Regions from separate parts of the Homo sapiens genome. Here regions 2, 3 and 4 are each linked to region 1. The links are contacts of gene promoters, found by promoter capture Hi-C in human tissues and cell types (Jung and others, 2019). All regions are on one chromosome and are shown on one strand. Each heading gives the region's core, a stretch centred on a gene start or on the middle of the fragment in contact. The rest is flanking DNA. Distances are from core to core; before and after follow the strand shown.

Region 1 (3,586 bases), core at 323-2,822:
GCTTGGAAATTGCTTTATCCCGCGGGCAGCGACCCAGGAGGGGGCTGCCTCCCAGGGCCCCGCGCCCGCCGCACAATTCACCAGCCGTCCGAAGTTTAAGCACCGACCTTGCAGTCAGACCAAGGAAAATGGATGATTTGGACCGGCAGACAGGCCAATGCCCCCGCGGAGAATTAAGTGTGCAGCCGCCTGCCCCGACATCTAACGCCCACTGGGACGGGAGACTAAGAGGACACCATTTGTTTTAAGCCAAGGGACACTGTTTTCTTTAATCCTCCATTATGTAACGCAGGAAGAAAAGTGCTTTTCTTTCTGTGCAAATGAAATGAAAACTTGGGCAACTTACAAAAGTAAAATCAAACACCGTTTCAGACACCAGCACATTACTGCAACTTAATTTTTGTTTAATCTCAAATTCGCACTCACGCCGTGGAGAGACCTCTCCATCCCTTTGGACCTCTATTGTTAAGATTATTTTGATTGACTCTACCAGGCTTAGAAGGGGTCTGTCTGGCAAACTCGGATACAACTATCTCGGAGCTGCTAAAGAGGGAGAAAACCAAGTTTTCCAGACTCGGTTCGAAAACTAAAGAGGCCGCGCGAGTGGAACCCGCGGCCAGGAAGGGAAGTCCTGCTACGCTACGCCGGGCCGACCTGCAGGAACCCCGTGGGCCTGCCCGGGCGCCCTGGCCGAGCCAGGCGAGTTTGCCCCCGACCTCCAGCGCGGGCACCGCTCCACGGGCCTGCTTCTGCGGCCTCTCTGAATTCACTCGCTACCCGCTCCCTGGCCCGGGCCTTCCGCTTTCCCAGGCCGAGATGGCCCAGCCGTCACCCGCCCGGCCTCCCAGCCCTCTTGCGTCCCCGGGGGCCGCGGCCTCGGCCACCGGGAACCTGCCCCCGGACCTTTCTAGTTCCTCTTCCGGACCAGGTCCACCCGTAGTCTCTCCCTCCCGGGCGACCCGCCACCCTTGCCCTGGCGCGGGTGAGACAGAGGAGAAGCGGGGGAGGCCGGGCGCACTCACCATCTGCGAGAAGAGGCTGAGATCCGCGGCGTAGGGCAGGAAGGCGCTGTAGTTGGGCGCGCCCGCGTACGGCCCCGCCGCCGCGTACATGCCCAGCACCGAGGTGACTGCAGCCGCGCCTGCCCCGCCGCCCAGCTCCGCGGCCCCCGGTCGGCCCGACGAGGCGGCGGCAGCCGCCGCAGCGGCCGCGGCCAGCACCCCCGGGCGCTCGCCGCCGTAGGCGCCCGGCCCCGCGGCGCTCAGGTACTGCGGGTAGCCCAGCTGCGGGAAGGACATGTCCGCGGACTCGGCGACCGCCGCAGCGGGCGAGTATTAAAGGCGCGGGGAGGGAGGCGGAGGCCGGCCGGAGGGGGTTGCAGGGGGCGCCGCGAGGGGTCTAGGGAGGAGCGGGCGGCCGGCCGGGCGCGCTCGGGCGGGCCGGGAGATGGAGGCCGGTCGCGGCTCCTCTGCCCGGTGCTCGCAGGCGCCCGGCTCCCGGCTGCGCCCGGATCCGCAATCGCGCGCCGACTGCGGCGGCCGCCCTCCGCTCGGCGGCGGGGCTTTCAGACACAATTTGAAGTTGATGCTTTGATTGGCATCCCCTTGAGCGCAGGCCCCGCCCCTGGCTCCCCTCCCGCCCCCTCCCTGCCTCCCGCCCGCCCTCGCCGGCCGCTCCCGCCCCTCCCGCGAGCACGTGGTGCCCCGTGCCGGCCCGGCCAGCTACTCTCGCGGTGGGCGCGCGCGTCGGGGCGGCGGGGTGTGGGCCCGGAGGCCGTGGGCTCCTTCCCGACCAGCCCCCGCAGCTGTCTGACAACCTGTCGACACGGGTTTACAGCTGTCTGACACCGGGTTTGCAGTTTCGCGGCCGAGGTGTGTCCCCTTTTTAACAAAAACAACTTGGCGCCTGCTTTTCTACTGTTTGGGCAGCGGGGAAGGGGCCGGCGGCCTGGACGCTGGTGACAGCGAGGGGGGAGCGGCCTCTCCCCCGAGTCCCGCGCGGCCGGGGCCTCCAGGGGACATCTTTGGCAGAAGTGCACCCGGACGCTCTCCGCGAGCCACTGAACCGGCGTGGCGTGACACCCCCGACTCCAGATGCGGGTTCCCGTGGGCCCCTACTGGGTAGTAACCGATCGTCTGCCAATGACCGGCCTCGCCGCCCTTGGGGAAGCGGGGAGCGGCCGAGCTCTGCGGGCTCTTTCAATTGTGCAAACTTTGAGCGAGGGCAAATCCCGCGGAGAAGTCGCCAGCTCGGGGGAAGCAGGCGCAGTCGGCGCCGCGGGTTCTCGGAGGGAGGGGTGGGGGAGACGCGGGGGGAGGGGCTTTCTCTTCACCCAGAAAGCCCCCTGGCAGCCGGAGGGAAACATCCCCCGCGCCCCCGCGAAGGGGGAAGACGGTGTGGCCTGGACGCCCGGTTTGTCCACCAGGTGTGCAGAGGCAGACAGGAAACTTGTGTGGAACGCGCGAACCCGAGTCGGCGCCGCCGCCAGACCGGCAACGGAGCGGCCTCTTGGGTCCAAGTCCCGCGTCCCTCTTCTCCCTGCGTCTCCCCTCTCCATCCTCAGCCTCGTCGGGCTACAGGACGCGGCCAGGCGCGGCGCACTTGAGATGGGCTCCGTTTCGCCGCGGCCCTGGCCGTGCGGCTCCCGGGAGAAGATGCCAAGTGCACGGGCCTCCTCGCCTCCCTGAGCCTGGGAAGGCGCTGGCAGGCCACTTCTGCGCCTCGTGGCTGGAGAGCTCCGGACGGTGCCGTGGGGAACCGGGTACCAGTCCCGGCTCCCGGGGCCACTTTGCGAACCACCTCCTACGCAGAGACGGGGCCGGGAGTTCACCCCGCTGCGGCTCTCCAGCACACCGGACTCCGCGGGAATTTCAGCAGCGCACTCTGGCGTCTTCTCGGCTTTAGGCCGGGTTGGGGCTACGGGATGAAGGCGGCCATCGGGCCAGAGTCGGCATGCTGTTCTGCTGGTGGTTTGAGCCACCCGTATCCTGGACACCGGCCAGGCGGTCCCTTCACCCCCTGCCTCGCTTCCCTCTCTTCACGGAGCCTCGAGGCCCAGGGACTTCAGCAGCATCAGGAGGGGCTCCGGTTTTCCGGGCCTGAGGACAGACACTGAGACATCGCCTATAATTAGCAACAATAATGCCCGTGATGGTAGTAATTACTAATAACCAGCTCCGACATCGGGCTTGATTTTTCCCTGCTCTGAGTCAGATTGTCTTGCTAGTCATGCTGCTTCCCGCGCTCAATTCGCCCCTCCACACTCCAGGATCCGCCTACAACCTCCAGGGTTCCTTTCCTGCTTTTACATAGATTCCGGGCTGGGTTTGTGGGGACGCCGAGGGTTGGTGGGGAGTGGATTCTTGGTGACACAAATCCGGGAAGCCCCTAACTGCAGCTTTTTCCTGTTCCCCAGCCTACCACCAGACACCTTCTAACCCTAAGACAGATTTCCGATCTTCAACCTCCTCTCCTCTATACCCAAAACAAATCCATCCATTGCCTGTGACTCACTGTGTGAGAAGTGGGCCAGTCCCACCCACCCCTGTCCTGTTCAGCAAACTACAGTGTCACATTTCAGGTTGAC
Region 2 (3,586 bases), core at 535-3,034, 390 kb before region 1:
ACCATAAAAATCCTAGAAGGTAACATCAGAAAAACCCTTCTAGACATTGGCTTAGGCAAAGATGTTGTGACCAAGAACCCAAAAGCAAATGCCTCAATCCTTCTTTTGAGGCTTGTGGCTTCTTCTTACATGAAGCTCCTGGGATCTGCTTCAATTCAATCAGGTAATAAGGGCAAAGGATCACATTATGTCAATATTTGAACCCAGCCAGTCTGTAAATTCCTATTTCTAAAGTGAACCATAATAATTTTCAACTTGTTTATAAAGCACACTGTGTATTTACTACTTTAGGAAGAATTATTGGAGTTTTAAGATGTTAACTAAGTATTACCCAAACCAGTTTTTTTTTTTTGTAAAATTCATGTGCATGGATAGCATGAATAAAAAACTAAAAGAGAGATAAACAATTTGAAAATGACTTCATAACTCTTATAAACTTGGCAAAATATAGTCATAGTATTCTCAATGCATATAAAATTAAAGATTTGAGCTACAAGTTAAGTGTGTCCAAAACTCAAAAGCAATTCAAATGTATACTTTTTAAATTGTGATATTAAAATAACCTTTTCTAGGCCCTTTACACCCACCAGGTCCTAGTAAATCAGAGGACAGATGGTGAGAACACTTAATAAGGAGCACCATTCACTCACCTCTCTCATAGGGCAGGAGTTCCGATAGATCATTAACCTGCATGATCATTAACCTGAATGTGCACAGTTCCCGTTCATAGGAAAAACCTTATTATTCACATTTTTGCATGAGGAAACAGACTTAGAGACATTAAGGAACTCAGATCCCAAGGTCTCCAGAACAAATCCCCAGCCTCCTGTGCCCCTTGTCCTTCACTGCCTGGGGCCACAGCTTGTCCTGTGCAGTTTTTTCTCCCTCCCTTCTTGAGGAAAGGTAAATTTGGGCTGATCTTACAATGAAACTTTTCCACAAAATTAAACTACTTCTACAGAAATTATTTATTTAACCTCCAACACATTTTGAGCACATCTTGATAAACTATAGATTATGTAAGAACAAATAGATTCTCATGCTGTCTTCACCAGGAGAAGCAACACCATATTGAAGTGGCCATGGAGTCACTAAATACAAGCAAAATGGAATCAAGGCATGGAAAACCAAATACAGTCTTCTCAGTGCATATTAAATATTTTGAAAACTATTTGTGAGGCTATTATAAAACATTAAAATAACATTAAATGCCACAAATGGCACAGTTTTATTTAGAAGATATAAGCATTAGATTAAAATAATCACTCAAATTTATGACATTAATTCAGTATCCAACAGTGGCAACTTCAGTGAAAAGAAAATCTGTTAAATATTTTAGAATTTTATAGACAAAATAATTAGTTAATTAGAGAGTGCACAGTCCTCCTGGTTTTCCTTAAACTTGACTAATTTAGCACTGGAAGTTTCATGTCCGAGCAAAGCGATATAGGAAGTCACCTTAGTTGATTGTGAGATAAATCTGAAAGACAAGTTAGATGCTCTTGTAAAAGACAGAGAGAGAGATTGTGTGTGTGTGTGTGTGTGTGTGTGTGTGTGTGTGTTTGTTGAGACTATCAGACACTCTTTGGAGAATGTGGTCTTTGCTCTGAATGGTGAAGAAAAATTAGACAAAGAGCTTAAGCTTGAGGAAGAAGGGGAATCAAGAACGAAGCACTACAAAAGTTCCAATTTTCCTCCACCTCAAGAGGACCACGCCATGCTTCACTCATTCCGGAAACATAAGCTTCTGTCCTCAGGATGCATAATTAAATTAACATCGGGACCATCTTTGCTTGGCACTGAAGGATCACACAGATGAGAAAGAAGTAATCCTCATTGTCTAAGGGTTTGTGATCTCTTTTAGTGAGTGGAGTGGTATGCCCTTTGCAAAGAGAAAGCTCTGTGTACCGATAATGTTAGCAGAAAGCATGAGTGCTTTGTTTCGAAGCACTCAATGGAGCACATCACTGCAGCCCGCAAGTCAAGGGTCATGAACAGCTCTTCCTGAAAGGGGCTTGAGTGACAGATACATAGAGGTTACCCAGGTCAAAAGTGGGGTGTGAAGATGGGAGGCTTTCTAACAGAAGAATTATCCGAGCAGAAAAGCTGTGGAAGGAAGCTATGGACTAGGAGGAAGAGCATGTGTGGATGCAGATTAGTGGTGGGAAGGGACCAGGAACAGGCAGCTCTCTCTTGCCAGGTGGCCTCAGTTGTGTTACTTAGAGAACAGTATGTGAATGTTTGAAAATATCACCAGTGAGACAGAAGGAGACATAGACACAGAATGTGTAAGGACGCTATAAAAGCTGATCAGTTCAGGCCGGGCGTGGTGGCTCACGCCTCTAATTCCAGCACTTAGGGAGTCTGAGGCGGGCGGATCACGAGGTCAGGAGATCAAGACCATCCTGGACAACATGGTGAAACCCCGTCTCTACTAAAACTACAAAAATTAGCTGGGTGTAATGGCGTGTGCCTGTAATACCAGCTACTTGGGAGGCTGAGCCAGGAGAATTGCTTGAACCAGGGAGGCGGAGGTTGCAGTGAGCCGAGATCATGCCACTGCAGCCTGGAGACAGAGTAAGACTTCGTCTGAAAAAAAAAAAAAAAAAAGCTGATAAGCTCCAAGTGGCCCCAGCTGGCCACTGCCACGTGTGGATAGAGCCTCCTTTTTGGCTGAGGAACTGCCTCCAGCTTTGCTAGACAAACTGCATGGACAAAATTAAATTCAGAGTGTGGTGTATATTGAGCATAGATGACACTCATGGCCAGAAGGCCCATTCTATGATGGGTGATTAGAGAGGAGGAAAAATAATGCTTTCTCAAACATGGAGGTCAGTGAAGCTGAGTAGGGATAATAGATGGAAAAAGTGCAATTCAAGTACCTACGTCTTCAGCAAAGGTGGGGCCTTTCAAACAACAAGAGGGCAACTGCGTGGGAGTTGACCAGGTCCAGACTGTGCATTTCAGACTCCTTTAAAAACATGTTTTGACCTGTAAATTACATTATCTATGGTCTATAGAGAGTAATTAGATTTAATTACAGCTCATTACATGATGCTCCTGAAGGTGTCCTTTAGAATGGTGATTTTCCAACAGGATTCTGCACTTTCCCCCAAATTTTTAGAGGCAAAAAAAAAGCCCCCAAAAATAACGTAAGGAATTCCTGTGAAAGTCTTGCTTATGATTACTGGATTTTTTTGGCTCCAACTTATTTAAAATTTCTAAGATGGTATAATGATATATTGATATTTATTTAAGATGCAAAATCTGTGACAAAATTTAATAATTCTTTATTTTTAAATTTCATTTGTCCCTTAGATATCAACTGCTCTACAAACTCATTCTGCCACTATATATTATCAAAACAAAAGCAAATTGATAAAAATCCAAGCCAAACAAGTTATTGTTTTGTCTTTGCTAAATAGAGTTATCTTGGGTATGAGTTGCTATTTTATACCAAAAACCTGTCAAAGGCAAGACTTTAATATTTCAAATCTCATTTAAGGAATTTGTAAATGGGTACAACTCTCTCTTCCATTATACATAATTATGAGGTTATTTCTTTAATACCTCAGTGTCATTAGGA
Region 3 (3,586 bases), core at 590-3,089, 300 kb before region 1:
CCAAGCAGACCAAATTTGGCTACCCTTGGCCCTTCTAAAAATTACACTTTTGAAAAATGTAGTCAGGCATGAGAGGTGCAAGAAAGTCTCCAAGAAATTATCCCCAGGCGGGTGAGTCACTCATGGACCACCTCTGAGCAAGGTCTTCCAAGGTCATCTGTGGCTCTTGGGATGCCTTAAGGTTGGCAGCCCTGCTAAGAGGGCCAGGGAGTTGGTCAAAATACAGGATGAGGAAGAACGTCTAAGAAGAAAAGCTACCATATCTTCCAAAAAGCCTGTGTGCAGCCCTTCAGAACACCCCTAGAGCTACATCTTAGAAGTTTGTGTCTTGCCCTTACTCAGTATGGGTATCAAATATCTGTGTTCCAAAAAGAATATGATAATCCCATCTTCAGGCAAAAATCCAGATTTAGTTCTCAAAATCCCAAGCAAGAAAACAATCTAGCCTCACAGAAACCCACCCATGTTGTAAAGGCAAAGAGTACCCGCCCCCTTCCAGGACGAAAACAACTTCCTCAAGTTTGGAAGTCTGATCCAATTCCAATGTCACTTCTTCCATGAAACGTTCCTTCGCCCCCTCCCCCAACTTAAAATAATATTTCTCTTTGTTTTCACAAAACTTTGTCCCTCTTCTCTGCGCCCTGCAATTCCATGTGCTTTCCCACTTCCTGTATTATAGCATGAGTTCTGAGGACAAGGACTATGATGCTCTCATATCTTCATCACCCTCCATTTGTAGCGTGTGGGAGCATTTGGTAAATGCTCACTTTTTTTTTTATTATACTTTAAGTTTTAGGGTACATGTGCACATTGTGCAGGTTAGTTACATATGTATACATGTGCCATGCTGGTGCGCTGCACCCACTAACTCGTCATCTAGCATTAGGTATATCTCCCAATGCTATCCCTCCATTCTTTGAAACCAACGAGAACAAAGACACAACATACCAGAATCTCTGGGACACATTCAAAGCAGTGTGTAGAGGGAAATTTATAGCACTAAATGCCCACAAGAAAAAGCAGGAAAGATCCAAAATTGACACCCTAACATCACAATTAAAAGAACTAGAAAAGCAAGAGCAAATACATTCAAAAGCTAGCAGAAGGCAAGAAATAACTAAAATCAGAGCAGAACTGAAGGAAATAGAGACACAAAAAACCCTTCAAAAAATTAATGAATCCAGGAGCTGGTTTTTTGAAAGGATCAACAAAATTGATAGACCACTAGCAAGGCTAATAAAGAAAAAAAGAGAGAAGAATCAAATAGACACAATAAAAAATGATAAAGGGGATATCACCACCGATCCCACAGAAATACAAACTACCATCAGAGAATACTACAAACACCTCTACGCAAATAAACTAGAAAATCTAGCAGAAATTGATAAATTCCTCAACACATACACTCTCCCAAGACTAAACCAGGAAGAAGTTGAATCTCTGAATAGACCAATAACAGGAGCTGAAATTGTGGCAATAATCAATAGTTTACCAACCAAAAAGAGTCCAGGACCAGATGGATTCACAGCCAAATTCTACCAGAGGTACAAGGAGGAACTGGTACCATTCCTTCTGAAACTATTCCAATCAATAGAAAAAGAGGGAATCCTCCCTAACTCATTTTATGAGGCCAGCATCATTCTGATACCAAAGCCGGGCAGAGACACAACCAAAAAAGAGAATTTTAGACCAATATCCTTGATGAACATTGATGCAAAAATCCTCAATAAAATACTGGCAAAACGAATCCAGCAGCACATCAAAAAGCTTCTCCACCATGATCAAGTGGGCTTCATCCCTGGGATGCAAGGCTGGTTCAATATACGCAAATGAATAAATGTAATCCAGCATATAAACAGAGCCAAAGACAAAAACCACATGATTATCTCAATAGATGCAGAAAAAGCCTTTGACAAAATTCAACAACTTCATGCTAAAAACTCTCAATAAATTAGGTATTGATGGGACGTATTTCAAAGTAATAAGAGCTATCTATGACAAACCCACAGCCAATATCATACTGAATGGGCAAAAACTGGAAGCATTCTCTTTGAAAACTGGCACAAGACAGGGATGCCCTCTCTCACCACTCCTATTCAACATAGTGTTGGAAGTTCTGGCCAGGGCAATTAGGCAGGAGAAGGAAATAAAGGGTATTCAATTAGGAAAAGAGGAAGTCAAATTGTCCCTGTTTCCAGATGACATGATTGTATATCTAGAAAACCCCATTGTCTCAGCCCAAAATCTCCTTAAGCTGATAAGCAACTTCAGCAAAGTCTCAGGATACAAAATCAATGTACAAAAATCACAAGCATTCTTATACACCAACAACAGACAAACAGAGAGCCAAATCATGAGTGAGCTCCCATTCACAATTGCTTCAAAGAGAATAAAATACCTAGGAATCCAACTTACAAGGGATGTGAAGGTAAATGCTCACTTAATTGAAAGTCTGAGTCTTAGGAGGAGATAGATGATCAGTGCTGAAATAAAAAAGAAGTATGCTGGATTCATAGCAGTGAAAATATTTTAAAAGGTGACTTGAGAGATTAAATAAGTAGACTCTTTCTGAATTTAATACTTGCTTGAAAATGTCTTTATTTTTCTCGTTCTGTACATCTTAGCAAAATGAAATGTTGCTGCAAGCACTTAATCAACAAATCATTTCTTGCTCTCTGACCATGGCTATTTGAACATCTGAAACTTTAATGGAGGCTTTGGTAATTTTTGTTTTCCAACCAACCGTTATAACTTCCTCAGGACGATTAAGGCAGTTTTTAGACAGCGGCTGAATTTTAACTCCCAGCATTTTGTGAGAGAAGCCTGAGGTCACATGAGGGTTCTACACGATCTAGGAAGCTTCGACATCTGGCCATAGTCACATGCTGGGTTAATCCAATTATATGGAAATGGTAGTTTTTAAAGAAAACAAAACTCATGCTGTGTTTTGGCAGAAAACTTAGTAGAGTAGATGAGAGGCTTCTTTTCAGAAATCACTGGTTCTGGTCATGTAAGTAATTGAGTTTACATAAACTGGTGTTTGGGAGGTGAACAGTTCAGTTGGCACTAGTTGCTATTTTACACAGGTTCCTCATGTAATTGGGGAGGGTACAAGCCGTCTGAGAGCACTCAAGCCGACCCTCGGGACTCTGATACTCCAGCTGTTGGTTGAGTGTCTTTGTTATCTTTTCTGCTGTGTCTCTCCTCCAAATGCTTAAGTGCTATTTACTTGAGACCACGTTCTGACTTATTTGATTTAGCTACATAGGGACAGCGCTTTAAGATCCAGCAACTTATCTTAGGGCAGAAGAGATTTTATCAACGTTAGGTGAAATTACTCCTGTAAATTTGCAGTTAGGCATCCTAACCAAATCAGAATGACCATCAAATTAAAGTTTCTGGAAGGCAGAGAAGCCAATCTGTTTCCCTCCAGTTTATTTAGTTCCTTTTGTTTTATCCATCATCATCATCATTGCGTATTTTCACAAGAGACAATGTTATTATTAACTTTTATATAAAGGATGAATCAACAATTAGTTTTTCAAATATACATTTTATTTTAGGAGGTTTTCGATTTACCAAAAAA
Region 4 (3,586 bases), core at 400-2,899, 290 kb after region 1:
TTAGCTGGGTCTTCTGCCCGAGGTTTGTCTAGGCTGCAGTCAAGGTGCCTGCCGAGCTGCATTTCCACCAGGAAACTCAGCTAGGAAGAGGCTCCCCAGCCGCGGATGGTGTTGATGGAACTCAGCCTCCTGTGTCTGCGACACTAAAGCCCTCAGCTCTAGAAGCCACCTCTTCCACACGCAGCTCACAGCATGGCTGTGTGCTTATTCAAGGCCTGCAGAGAAGTGTCATTCTCTTTGCAGAAGAGCCCAGACCCTCTTCTAGGGTTCTCACCTGATTAGGTCAGGCCCACCAAAGGTAATTTTCCTTTTAATTGATTCAAAGCTCACCTGATTTGTGACCTTAATTATAAATGCAAAATGTCTTCATCTTGGTCATATGTTCTGGGCTAAATTGTATATTCCCCACAAAATCTATATGCTGACGTCCTAACCCTCAATACCTCAGAATGTGAGTGGATTTGGAGGTGGATCCTTTAAAGAGGATATTACAGTTATCTGAGGCCATGTGGGGTGGGTTCTAATCCACTATGGCTGCTGTCCTTATACAAAGGACATATTTGGAGACAGACATACAAACAGGGAGAACGCCCCATGACAGTGAAGGCAGAGACTGGGGTGATGCTTCCACCAGCCCAGCAACAGCAAGAGTTGCCAGCGACTACCAGGAGCTGGAACAGAGGCCTGGAGCAGATTCAGAAGAGGAGGTCAGGACACAGACACAGAGGACACGGAGAGAAGACACTGCCTACATGCCCAGGAGAGAGGCCTCAGGAGGGAATGGCCATGCTGACCCCTCACCTCTGGCTTCAGCTCCAGCACCGTGAGACGACAAATCCCCATCGTCCAAGCCCCAGGCTGTGCGGCTGTGTTGTTACGGCAGCCTTGGCTGAGGAATGCATCCTACAAAGTCACCTAATCATCATGGGATCAAAATCCCATGCCATCCACAGGTCTGATCACACCCCAGGGGAAGGGTGTACTTGGGCCTGGACATCAGAGGCTGCAAATCTTAGGGCTCATCTCGAAGCTCCCGCTGCCTCACCCTCCATGTCTCTGAAGTGCCTGTGGGCTGCACCACTGGGCTACGCCAAGCCTGACATTCGAGGTGCCAGTCACCACCATGGGCCAAACCCCTTCTCCCCCTCCTCCTCCACCTGCAGATGTGTGCCATAGACTGTGACCAATAACCACTGCAGGTGAAGATCCCAAGGCACTTCCACAACAGATCCAGACATCGGAACAGATGCCTCTGCAGTGAGTGCTGGGGTGGAACTATGGCGGGTACTGCCTGGGGTTTTACCAATTGTAAAGTTAAGTCATAGGATGGTTAAACAACATTTTGCAAGACGATGTCGTCAGTTGGGGAATGCTGGGAAAGAGGAGACAGTCTCTAGGTGTGTTGCTGGAAGCCGTGGAGGAGTGGGCAGTAGCTACCTGTGTCACGTGTTACCTCTCAGCAAGCATGCTGAGGGACACACCACTTGTGCAGGGCACAGGACCCGGGACACCTTCCCCAGGTCAGATGCCAGGGCCTGTGGCCCTCCACACAACCCGAAAAGCATGGGATGCTGGAGATCTCACCATGACACTCAGGACACCTCCTGTAACAGCCAGTGTCCCCCAGGGCCCACTTAGTAACCTGCACATGTACCAGTGACTAAGATGTGTGGGCCTGAGGGTCACTGCAGCCCTGTGGGGAGAAGGCCTCTTCCCAAAGACATGGCAGAGCTGAGCTCCCCAGGCCCCCTGGAACCACAGGAGCCTGCAGATGCCCAGGAACTGCGGGGTGTGGTGAGCTGCATGGCGTTGCAGGTGCCAGGTGACCGGTGTCAGAGAAGAGCATTGGTCTTGCACGATAGTTGCCCTCCACACAAACTCAAGGCTCCCAGCGGGTCGTTGTCCTCTACAGGACCCCAAAGCCTCCCGCAGAGTCCACACTGAGAACAAACGTCTCCTGTTGGGAGGTGCTTTTCTCAGCCCTGGGGTGGTGCTTTCAAGCATCAGTATTTAGAGAATAACCTTTAAGGGCTATTCTCTGGCCAGTGTGGTTCCTTCACATGAACTGGAGTGGTGTTCACAGCCGAGGAGCGGGACCTGCGAGTGGGCAGCGTTCTGGACCCCCAGCTCCATGCTACTGAAGCAGGCCGGGCTCGTTCTCTGCCAGAACCCCCGATTGGGGATCCCCCAGAGCTGCTGTGGGTCCAGTTGGTCTCTCCCCAGCCCTCAGTCAGTAACTCCGAGGCTCCCAGAAGATCTAAGACAGGAGCGACCCCTGTAGAATTCGAAGACTCTATGTGCAGGCGGCAGGTGCTATCCTTGCTGTGGAAGCCTCCCTGGGAGCACCCTGATGGCGGGCAATTAAGAAGGGCCTCTGGTCTGGAGCCTCGTGAATACTTGGCACCTGTGTGTGCGGAGATAAACTGGGAGATTTATCTGCACGGGTGGGCAAAAGGCAGCCAATGGGCACTTGTTCTGTGAGCGCAGATACCACTGAGATAGCAGTGCTGGAAATAGGCAAATGAATATCTCCGCTCCCCCGCTGCGGGAGCCTCGGCCACTGCGGGAGAGCTCCGCGTCCTTCTGAACCAGGAGAAGCACGGGCGGCAGACGCTGGGGAACACGTGCAGGCTCAGAGTGCGGCTCTGGGGACGGCGATTTTCCAAGGAGAGTCAAGATGACCTTCCACTTGCTCACCGCCGCCAAACGAACCTTTCTAAAGCACCCCCATCACGGCAGCTGTCCTGGCCTGCAGCGGCTCCAGGAGAAACCTGGGATTCTGGCGCAGCGTGCACGGGTTCCCTGCCCACCCCCAGCCCCTCACCCACACTCTCCTCCAGGGAAACGCGGCCTGGGCCGCTCCGTGCCTGTCCTCACACCCGTGCGGTTACTCCTGCTCGCCCCAGCGCCCGAGGACCGCTGCCCCAACGCTAGTGAAATCACCCCTACGTCCCGTTAATCTCCAGCTCCTTCGAGATGTTTGTCCTGACTCTTCCACCTGTGTCTCCTGGACCAGGGCACACCACTCGCTCAGGTTTGTTTGTTTTAATCTCATTTTGGTTTTTTATCACACTGATTTATTTGCTTAAGTCTTATCTCCTTATCTAAATCATAAATATACTGTTGAGTTGTGAATTCTGTACAATATACCATGTTTTAGAATTCATTCGTATTCCCCCACAATGCTTGGTGTATTTCTCGGTGAAGTTAATGATAAGCATCAAATGGACGTCATTGGATAAGATTCAAAAGTTCATTGATCACCCTGTTGGTTGACTCTCTTTTATAACAAGACTCTAAATCCCTAGAAAGTGCCAGAATTCACCTCTGGGACTTAGATTACTCGGGAGGCAACCCTAGTAACTTTAGAGACTTAAAGTATTTTAGCAGAGCTTCAAATAACCTAGACTAGATTAGCTCCCCATTGTAGATGCCTGAGTAGGCCAGAGACTGCATTCCCTCTCAACGAGTTCTCACAGATATGCAGAGAGATGCAAGATACCGAGATGAGCCTAAAAGACAGGGCTATCAAAAAGCAATTTTTATAGAAACTGGAAGCTTCCTCTTGTCCTTTTTTCCTGCTCCC

Evidence for each region. The method cuts DNA at HindIII sites, captures the fragments that hold promoters and counts their contacts. A contact is called where the count stands out against the background at its distance.
Region 2: a contact is called between a fragment that was not itself captured here and the fragment with the promoter of IRX1 in region 1, in 2 of the 25 tissues and cell types used here (H1 embryonic stem cells and dorsolateral prefrontal cortex).
Region 3: a fragment that was not itself captured here is called in contact with the fragment with the promoter of IRX1 in region 1 in 1 of the 25 tissues and cell types used here (H1 embryonic stem cells).
Region 4: a fragment that was not itself captured here is called in contact with the fragment with the promoter of IRX1 in region 1 in 1 of the 25 tissues and cell types used here (lymphoblastoid cells).

What each region holds. Positions count from the first base shown.
Region 1 is chr5:3,593,818-3,597,403 of GRCh38, reverse strand. IRX1 (iroquois homeobox 1) reads right to left here and starts at 1,572. Exons shown (of 4, transcript NM_024337.4): 1 at 1,023-1,572. The coding sequence starts at 1,298. RefSeq lists a silencer at 1,575-1,869. The HindIII fragment of the contact is 23,247 bases long and covers 1-3,586 here.
Region 2 is chr5:3,982,303-3,985,888 of GRCh38, reverse strand. No RefSeq gene overlaps it. Among named protein-coding and RNA genes, the nearest start is that of LINC02063, 150 kb to the left of the region's middle. The HindIII fragment of the contact is 4,989 bases long and covers 1-3,586 here.
Region 3 is chr5:3,898,585-3,902,170 of GRCh38, reverse strand. No RefSeq gene overlaps it. Among named protein-coding and RNA genes, the nearest start is that of LINC02063, 240 kb to the left of the region's middle. The HindIII fragment of the contact is 3,030 bases long and covers 325-3,354 here.
Region 4 is chr5:3,304,843-3,308,428 of GRCh38, reverse strand. No RefSeq gene overlaps it. Among named protein-coding and RNA genes, the nearest start is that of LINC01377, 130 kb to the right of the region's middle. The HindIII fragment of the contact is 5,203 bases long and covers 1-3,586 here.